2 separate regions of the Homo sapiens genome follow, and region 1 is linked to region 2. The links are contacts of gene promoters, found by promoter capture Hi-C in blood cells and fetal thymus (Javierre and others, 2016). All regions are on one chromosome and are shown on one strand. Each heading gives the region's core, a stretch centred on a gene start or on the middle of the fragment in contact. The rest is flanking DNA. Distances are from core to core; before and after follow the strand shown.

Region 1 (4,293 bases), core at 1,091-3,590, 390 kb before region 2:
CTAGTCTCGAACTCCTGGCCTCAGATGGTCCACCTGCCTCGGCCTCCCAAAGTGCTGGGATTACAGGCATGAGCCACCACGCCTGGCCCCGAGGTATTTCTTTAAATCAGCTAGTTGAAGTTCTATAGGAAACTCTTCACAATGTCAGTTTTTTGTTTTTTTGTTTTGTTTTGTTTTGTTTTTTTCACTTTGCTGCAGACCCAGAAAACTTTGTCAAACATGACCTGTCCCTTCCAGGAGATGAGGGACCATGGCCCAATCCCACGTTTTAGTGAAACCCAAGCAGAGCAATGCAATAGGGCAGCCCCCCTTCCACTCAGCTGCACAGGCTCCGGTTCAGATTGCCTTTCCTGGCTGGCAGGATGCTTTGGTGAAAGGCAGATAATAGGGTGGGACAGGGGATCACGGGCGGGAGACACGTAGGCACTGGGGCTGGTGTCTGCGAGGCATGAGGCCTGCCTGTCGGCTGTCCTGAGTGGAGAGACAGGACCGGGCAGTGGGCCGCCATAAAGATGGTGCTGGATGCGACAAGAGCCGCATGGAACACAGGAGGTGGTGGCCACACAAGGCAGAGGGCAGCTTTGGCAGGGGGACGGTTGCCAAGCAGGCTTCCTGTAGGAGGCAACTCTTGACAGAGCCCTCAAGCTGGTGGTTACCATGTCCCAAATATGACCCACTCATCAGGCCCCACCCTGCACCACCCCCGTGCTCCCTCCTCAAACTCACACCAGGACCCATCCAGGAAGGCGTCCCTGCCCCATTTTAGAGATGAGGGGGCTCGGATAGCATCACCGGCTGGAGGTTGTAGTTTGAGGAAAAGGTACAGGAGGATTTGAATCCAATTCTGTTGAACTCCAAACCCCAGGCACCCACTCATTCCATGAGGGAAAGTTGGGGGACAGTGCCCACGTGGCACGGTGCTGTGCACGTAAGCTTGCCTGTCTTGTGTGTTTCCAGGCTGTCATGCCAGACCTCATCTCTGCACTTGCAGTCTTCCCTGGCCGCAGCAGTGCCACTCACTGCCAACCACTGGGTCAGATCATTGCAGAATCCAACTCCACACAGAGCAGATTGTCCTTTATGGACCAAATATGTCTATCTGGTTGGGCGCAGCGGCTCACGCCTGTAATCCCAGCACTTTAGGAGGTCAAGGCGAGCGGATCACCTGAGGTCAGGAGTTCGAAACCAGCCTGGTCAACATGGTGAAACCCTGTCTGTATGAAAAATACAAAAAATTAGCCGAGTATGGTGGTAGGTGCCTGTAATCCCAGCTACTCAGGAGGATGAGTCAGGAGAATCACTTGAACCTGGGAGATGGAGGTTGCAATGAGCCGAGATCTCACCACTGCACTCCAGCAAGGACATAAGTGCAGAGCAAGACTCCATCTCAAAAAGAGAAGAGAAGAGAAGAGAAGAGAAGAGAAGAGAAGAGAAGAGAAGAGAAGAGAAGAGAAGAGAAGAGAAGAGAAGGGAAGGGAAGAGAAGAGAAGAAAAAAGAAAAGAAAAGTAAAGAAAGAAAATCCGTCTATCTACACATCACACTTTGCAGTGAGACTCCCACGGCACCTAGCATGACACAGGGAGGGGTCCTGCAGCTTCCAGTCCATGTCCTGGACTGGATAAACAACATCCATGATCTAGCCCTGGAGCTGGATCCTGTGTGACGAGGTGGACACCTGTCCCTTTGGAGGGGCAAAGAAGGGAGGCAGTGCAGCTGCAGGTGGGCTGCCCTGTTCTTCTCAAGATCTACAGAGACAGACATCTGAGCCATGTCGAATGGGCCCTGCTGCAAAGCTGGGGACTGGTTAATTTTCAAAGGGTACAGTGTCATGACAGCAGCAGTTTCTGGACCTGCGGAAGCTTCCAGATCCTGCAAAGCTAGAATGGGTGCACAGCTTAAGCCCCTCCCCACCACCTCAGCTGTGACCACTGGTTAACATGTAGCATGCAGCACTTGGTGCTAATCAGATGGAGTCATGCCTCTGCTGACAACCCTCCATGGCAGGTGTCCCACAGCCCTTAGGACCAAAGTTAAACTCCTCACTGGGCTGCAAGACCTGCCTGGCCAGGGCCTTGCCCAGCTCTGCCCGCTTTGTGCCATCTCCACACTCTCTCCCCTTGAATGTCTCCTGCCACAGGCTTCTGCACATGCTGCTGCCACCCCCCTGGAGCTGTGGGGCCAGGAGCAGCCACCAGGGAAATCTGATCCTTGACCCTGGGCTCCTGAGTCTGCCAGAGGCTGCCGTATCAGCCAACAGACAGCTTCTGCAACAGACAACCGAACCCCGGGGGTACCCAGGGCCAGGTGCTGATGGACTGGGACTCGGGAGAGTTCTCACTCCCTGCCGGGGACCTTGGCCACATGCTGCCATTCCTGGCCCTTCGTTCCTCATCTGTAAGATGAGCATAAGCACAGCTGCCTTGTGGGACTCTTGTAGATTCTGTCCCCTAGTATGACAATACTTTGTTACCTTGGACCCATGGGGTTTTGCTGTCAGTACCAGGATGGCAACTAAGGACATGCCCATGGTTGGCCCTCACCGACGAGGTCCAGCCTTGGGTCGCCAAGCAGCCGCCTGCTCGCTGCCAGTGAGCCCTCCCTTTCTCAGCCCACGGCCCCTGCCCCGGTGGACTTCCACCACCTGACCTGCAGGCACGCTTCCAGGAGCTCAGAGGCCACTGCCCTGGCGGATGACACCCTGGAAGCACACACTCCCCCTTGACAGAGAGCTTTGCACATCAGCAGAGGGCAAGCCAGCAGCAAACTTCGCAGGCCCTGGCTGGCAAACAGACTCCAGCCTGGACCCCAGGCCCATAGGAGAAGCTTCACCCTGGCAGGGTCAGGGAAAGCACTGGGGTCCCTGAACACAGATGACCGTCATCACCTGCTCCCAGCACTCAGGGTCTAACTGCTGCCCTGTACTGAGCGGCCAAGCCCTATCACTCCAGGTTGCCTCCTCCAGCAACCCCTTCCCGTCTGAATTCCCAGCTTCCCAATTCTTTCCCTGAGGCTGTGGGAGAGCCTCGGCTTCTCTGGCTGGCTGGCAGGTCAGCACTTGCAGGAGAGAGCAGCTCAGCAGGGCAGACGTGGGCTTTACAGACCTGCCTTCCGTCCTGCGCCCTGCCGCTGGCCTGGGGGACCCAGTGCAGATGGGGCTTCTCTGTGCCTCAGTCTCCATCTTGCAATGTGGGCACAGTAATAATTACCCTCAGAACATCTTCCGGATCAGAAAATGTAAAAAGGGACCTGAGACAGCATTGTCACCACATAAATGGTAGCTATGAACTAAGATCCATATGCACCAGATGCTCCCAGTAGTCACTAAGGCGCCAGAGAGGAAACTCAGGTGGTGCTCAGAGACATTTTCAGGAGCACTGATTTGTCCTCAAAGTTACAGATTTCTACTCAGTCCCTGCGCCAGCGGTGTTTCTGTTCTGTCGTGTGGCCCTCATTTCATCAGCACTGAAGAAGGTAAAGAGAGACTTCCTGGAGCTGGGAATGGGGGTGAGGGTGTGCCCTTTGTGACAGTTGCTCCCATGCTGGGTGTGTGACAAGGTCTTCGTGGCCAACAGAAAATTGCTTCATCTCTCTCATCTGAGCGTGGTTTCCCAGAAGAAACCTACCACCCCCGGGAAGCATGGATATGGGGCTGTTTCTGGCCAGGATACTCCCAAGAGAAGAGTCCTGAACTTGCTTCTACCCTCAGGACGCCTGCGGGAGACTGGCTGACAGCATTTGATTGAAAATGCTTATTTCTGGGACACATGGATGAAAAACAAGTTTTCTCTCCCTAAAACCTTGGGAGCCCCAAAAAACCCAAGAATATCACTTTCCTATGTCTGCTGAGTGTACGTGACCACTCTGCACACCCCCACATAGCCTTTGTCCTTGTTCATGAGAATGTTCACTAGGTCTTTCAACACCTGGTTGACCTGGGTGGTGCATCTGGGTCACACACCTGTGTGGACCCTGGTCCTTGAGAGTCTGGGATATGGGTATGCCAGGTAATGTCTTTGAGCCCGGAGGTCCTCATGAGGATGTAGCCCCTGAGCTCTGCGTGGGCAGCCCAGGGTCAGCTTCCCTCACCAAACACAACAGGATGACAAGCTTGGATGTGGCTGCCTGCACACCCCACGAGATATGCAGGATATTACGTGTACAGGTCACCCTATAAACTCTGAAACAACATAAATGATAGCTATTGCTGGCTAACATGTGCAAGAGAAGGTGAGGTTGCCGTGTGCCAGTGGGAAGGATATGTGGGTGTCTGGAGGGTGGGGCAAAGTTCACCA
Region 2 (3,753 bases), core at 185-2,684:
TGTAGTCCACGGCTTTCACCCTGAGGACGTGCGTCTCCTTGGTCTCGCGGTCCAGTACGCTGTCCGTGCTCACGGCGCCCGTGGCAGAGTCGATTCGGAAGTAGCCCCGGGAGCGCTCGTCGAACAGCCCCTCCATGTAATAGCTCACGCGCTCCTCCTCGCCCTCGATGGTGTAGTGCGCGTGCAGCTGGAGGATGAGGGTGCCCGCCGGTTCGTTCTCAAACAACGCCACCTGGTAGTTGGGCATCGGAAACTTCAGGCTCCCTCTGCCGCTCGTGCCCCGCCGGGCCCGTCGCGCCGGCCCCGCCCGGGCTTCGGGCAAGTTCGGCGGCAGGGGCGGCGATGGGGATGGCGACGCGGAGGGCGTCCCCGCGGTGGCGGCCTCCAGCGCCAGTCCCACCCGGACGGCGCCAGCCGCGCGCCGCAGGGCGCACAGCAGACGCAGGCGGACCGAGCCGCCCGGCGGCAGGCAGATGGGACGGCCGGGACAGCGGGGCCTGGGGCGCGGCGGGCAGCGGCAGGCGGGTAAGGTGGTCGGAGCTGCGAGCGCCGAATGCTGCGCGGCCGCGCAGCCGCCGGGGACGGGGAAGCAGAGCGCCCCGCAGAGCCGGGCACCGGTTCCGCAGAGCCGGGCACGGGCTCCGCAGCCGGGAAGGTGCGTGCGCGCCCGCAGGCGGCGGCTCAGCGCCGTCGGGGCACTGCGGGCCACCAAGCGGACTTGCAGCGGCAGCGGGCGCCCCGCGCCCGAGACGCGCCGACGTCCTGCCAGCCGCCCATCGCGGCCCACGTCCAGCAGCTCCCGCGGCGCCCGGGGCGTGCAAGCGGCGCCCACCGCGTAGGTACAGCCGGGCCGGAGGGCGAAGGCGCGGGTCCCGCCGGGTACGCGCGGCTCCCAGGCGGCCGCTCGCAGCCCCATCGCCGGCAGGGCGGCGGCGGCGGCCAGGAGCAGCAGCACGGGCAGCACGGGCGGCGGCGGCGGCGCCATGGCCCGGAGCCCGAGCCCGAGCCGGGCGCCCGAACACAATCCATGCACCCGGCGCGCCTCCGCATCCACCCGGCGAGGCCGGGGAGCGGCTCCCGGGCGCCCGGCCCTCGGGGCGGTCCGCGTCCCGCCTCCCCGGGGGCCCTGGCGGGGACTGTGGGGACCACGCGCCCGGCCTCCCCCGCAGCTTCCACTTCGAGAGCACTTTGCGAAAGTTTGCGAAGTTGGTTTCAAGATGGCTCCTCCGCGCGTCCCGGGAGGGCGCCGCGCATCAACCTGCGGCGGCGGCGGCGGCTCCAGGCGGCTCCAGGTGGCTCCGGCGCGGGCTCGGCCGGACGGGCGTGGGAAGCGGGGCGGGCCCGGCGCGGGGCGGGGGCTGAGTTCCCGGAGCGGGCTGGGCAGCTCCGCGCCGCGCAGACCCCGGCGGCCGGCTGCTGCCTGGGCGGTGCGCTTGGCCCGCGCCCACTCCGCCCGCGCTCTCCCCGCCCCCGGCCCGGCCCCGCCCCGCCCCCGGCCCAGCGGCGTATTGTTCGGCCCCGGGGGGAGCCGGCTCGGAGGTGCGCGCCGAGAGGATCGCTATGGAGACGCGAGGGCGCGGCCGGGACGGGGACTGGGGCCCTACTCCCCGGAGGCCTCCCCACCCAGCCTCCCGGTGGGGCGGGGCCGAGGCAACAGGGCCGGGAAAGGTGGGGCTGGGGCCCCCGGTGGCCGCTACCCGTGGGGCGGTGGCTCCGCACCTCGGGCTCGGGGCCGCGGCTCAGAGCCTGGCTCCCCACCCCGGCAGAACAGATCCACGGAGACCGCCGCCAGGAGTGCCGCGCGGGTAGGACCCGGGGGCGGAGGACTGGGGCCGAGAGGCCGGGGAGCCCCCCCCCACCCATTAAGGACTGCGGAGGCTGTCGAGGAGGGTTACCCATTTTACAGCAAGACGCACGGAGGCTAAAATGCTTCACCCCGACTAAAACTCCCTGGACTTTGAAGCCCAATAGGCAGCTACCGGATCTGCGTCCCACTTGGTTTAAAGCGCAACTTTTAAATGAAAGAAGAAAACCCCGGTTGACATAAGGGATTTGGAGAGGACGGCGGAGGCGCGCTCATCTCCCGCGTGCGGCCCGACCCGAGCGTTCGCGGACGCATCGCGGAATCCCCGAGCGTCCGGCTCCTCCCGAAGCGGGTTGCGGGGAAGGCGGGGGGCTGCGGGTCCTGGAAGCTGCCTGGGGCAAGCAAGCACCCGCAGGGATTTAGAGCTGTGCCACAGCCCCTGCCCAGCCTCCTACGGAGGACAGCGGGGGGCGGGGGGCAGAGACCTTAGAGCTTTCAGAAAAGTGACACACACCCCCGCCTCCTGCGGGGAACCACGGGGGGCCGGGGGCAGCTTTAGGTTTGCGTGACGGGTACACCTGCCTCCGGATGGGGCACAGGGATAAAGGGGGTGGAGGCTTAGGACTTGGCGACCCCCCGCATGGGCGGGGCTTTGGGACTGTGCCACCAGCGGCTGGGAAGGGCGCGCACTCCCTTGGTGGCGCTCGGGGCGCCGGAGTCCAGTGCAGCCCTTAGGCCTCCCAGTGGTCGGGGACGGTAGGTGGGGGTCGCCTCTTCTCTCCTAGAAGGGCTTCTCCTGGGGCCGGTCGGAGCGGTGGGGGTGGGAGTAATGCGCAGTCACCCCTAGAACGGGTCTTTTTGGCAAGGGAGGGTCGGATCCTGCAGCCAAATCTCTGAGCTGAGCTGAGATGAGTCCAGTCTCAACGAGGACCGTGGGCGGCTGTGGAGAACCGGAAGGGTTTCTCCCCCGGAGCGATGTGTCTGTGTGTGTGTCACACGCATACTCAGCCAACTTCGCTCAAAGCTGCTGAAACAGTGTCTTTGTGCTGAAGCCCAATGTGAGCATTTTCTTCCCAGTAGCAAGGATTTGAACACGTTATATTGATCTAAAAGGTGGAGTTGCTTTGGAACCTTTTAATTCGAGGTTTCCACTGGAGAGTCCTGTTGGGAAATGTGTGTGTGGAGGGAGGGGAGGAAGGAGAAAAGTCCGTCTCCTTAATGTGAGCGGTCCAGGACCTCCCCACCCGCCATATACCCTTCCACTGGGATTTTTCCGGGAAGGATGAAAGGACAGGAGTTCTGGGGCCGGAAGGCAGGGCGGGTCCCTGAGCCCGGAGCCTCCCAGTGGAAGGCTACTGGGCGGACCTGAAGGGGACCCAGGCAGGAGGAAAAACCAGAGAACCCCAGGAGTGCCTGTTTTGCAATAAGGCTTTAAGCAGAGTGGGTTGGGTTTAAATAAACAAAACTCAGCTGCAGCCAGTGGGTTCAGGTGTGGGCCTGCTTTTCTGGAATAAGGCACCTGCAGGCTGCGAGGTAACCACAGGGACTGCCCAACACCTAGGGACAGGGGAGGATGGATGAATCTCACTAACAGGATGTCCAGCAAAGACAAAAGATCATTCCATTCACGCTTAGACCGACAGCAAGCCCGACTCCACCATAACGTTTAGAGGTGTGCACAAATAGGGGAAAGATGAAGAAAAACAAGGAGGTGATTATGGGCACATTCAGGAGGGCTCTGGGGGAGGAGGGGCATCCCCTTCTGGACCTGAGGGTTACCAGAGTGTCGGCTTCATGATCACACTTTGAACTCCAAACACATGATTTGCGTACTTTTCCCTATGCCTGCATCTAGAGTCGGCAGTTTTTGTTTTTTTTTGTTTTGTTTTGTTTTGTTTTGTTTTGTTTTTTTGAGACAGAGTTTCACTGTTGTTGCCCAGGCTGGAGTG

The links. The method cuts DNA at HindIII sites, captures the fragments that hold promoters and counts their contacts. A CHiCAGO score of 5 or more calls a contact.
Region 1: a contact is called between a fragment that was not itself captured here and the fragment with the promoter of CELSR1 in region 2, in 1 of 17 cell types (M1 macrophages). The highest score is 5.1, in M1 macrophages.

The regions. Positions count from the first base shown.
Region 1 is chr22:46,145,025-46,149,317 of GRCh38, forward strand. No RefSeq gene overlaps it. Among named protein-coding and RNA genes, the nearest start is that of PPARA, 3.4 kb to the right of the region's middle. The HindIII fragment of the contact is 964 bases long and covers 1,859-2,822 here.
Region 2 is chr22:46,536,186-46,539,938 of GRCh38, forward strand. CELSR1 (cadherin EGF LAG seven-pass G-type receptor 1) reads right to left here and starts at 1,435. Exons shown (of 35, transcript NM_001378328.1): 1 at 1-1,435. The coding sequence starts at 985. The HindIII fragment of the contact is 22,329 bases long and covers 1-3,753 here.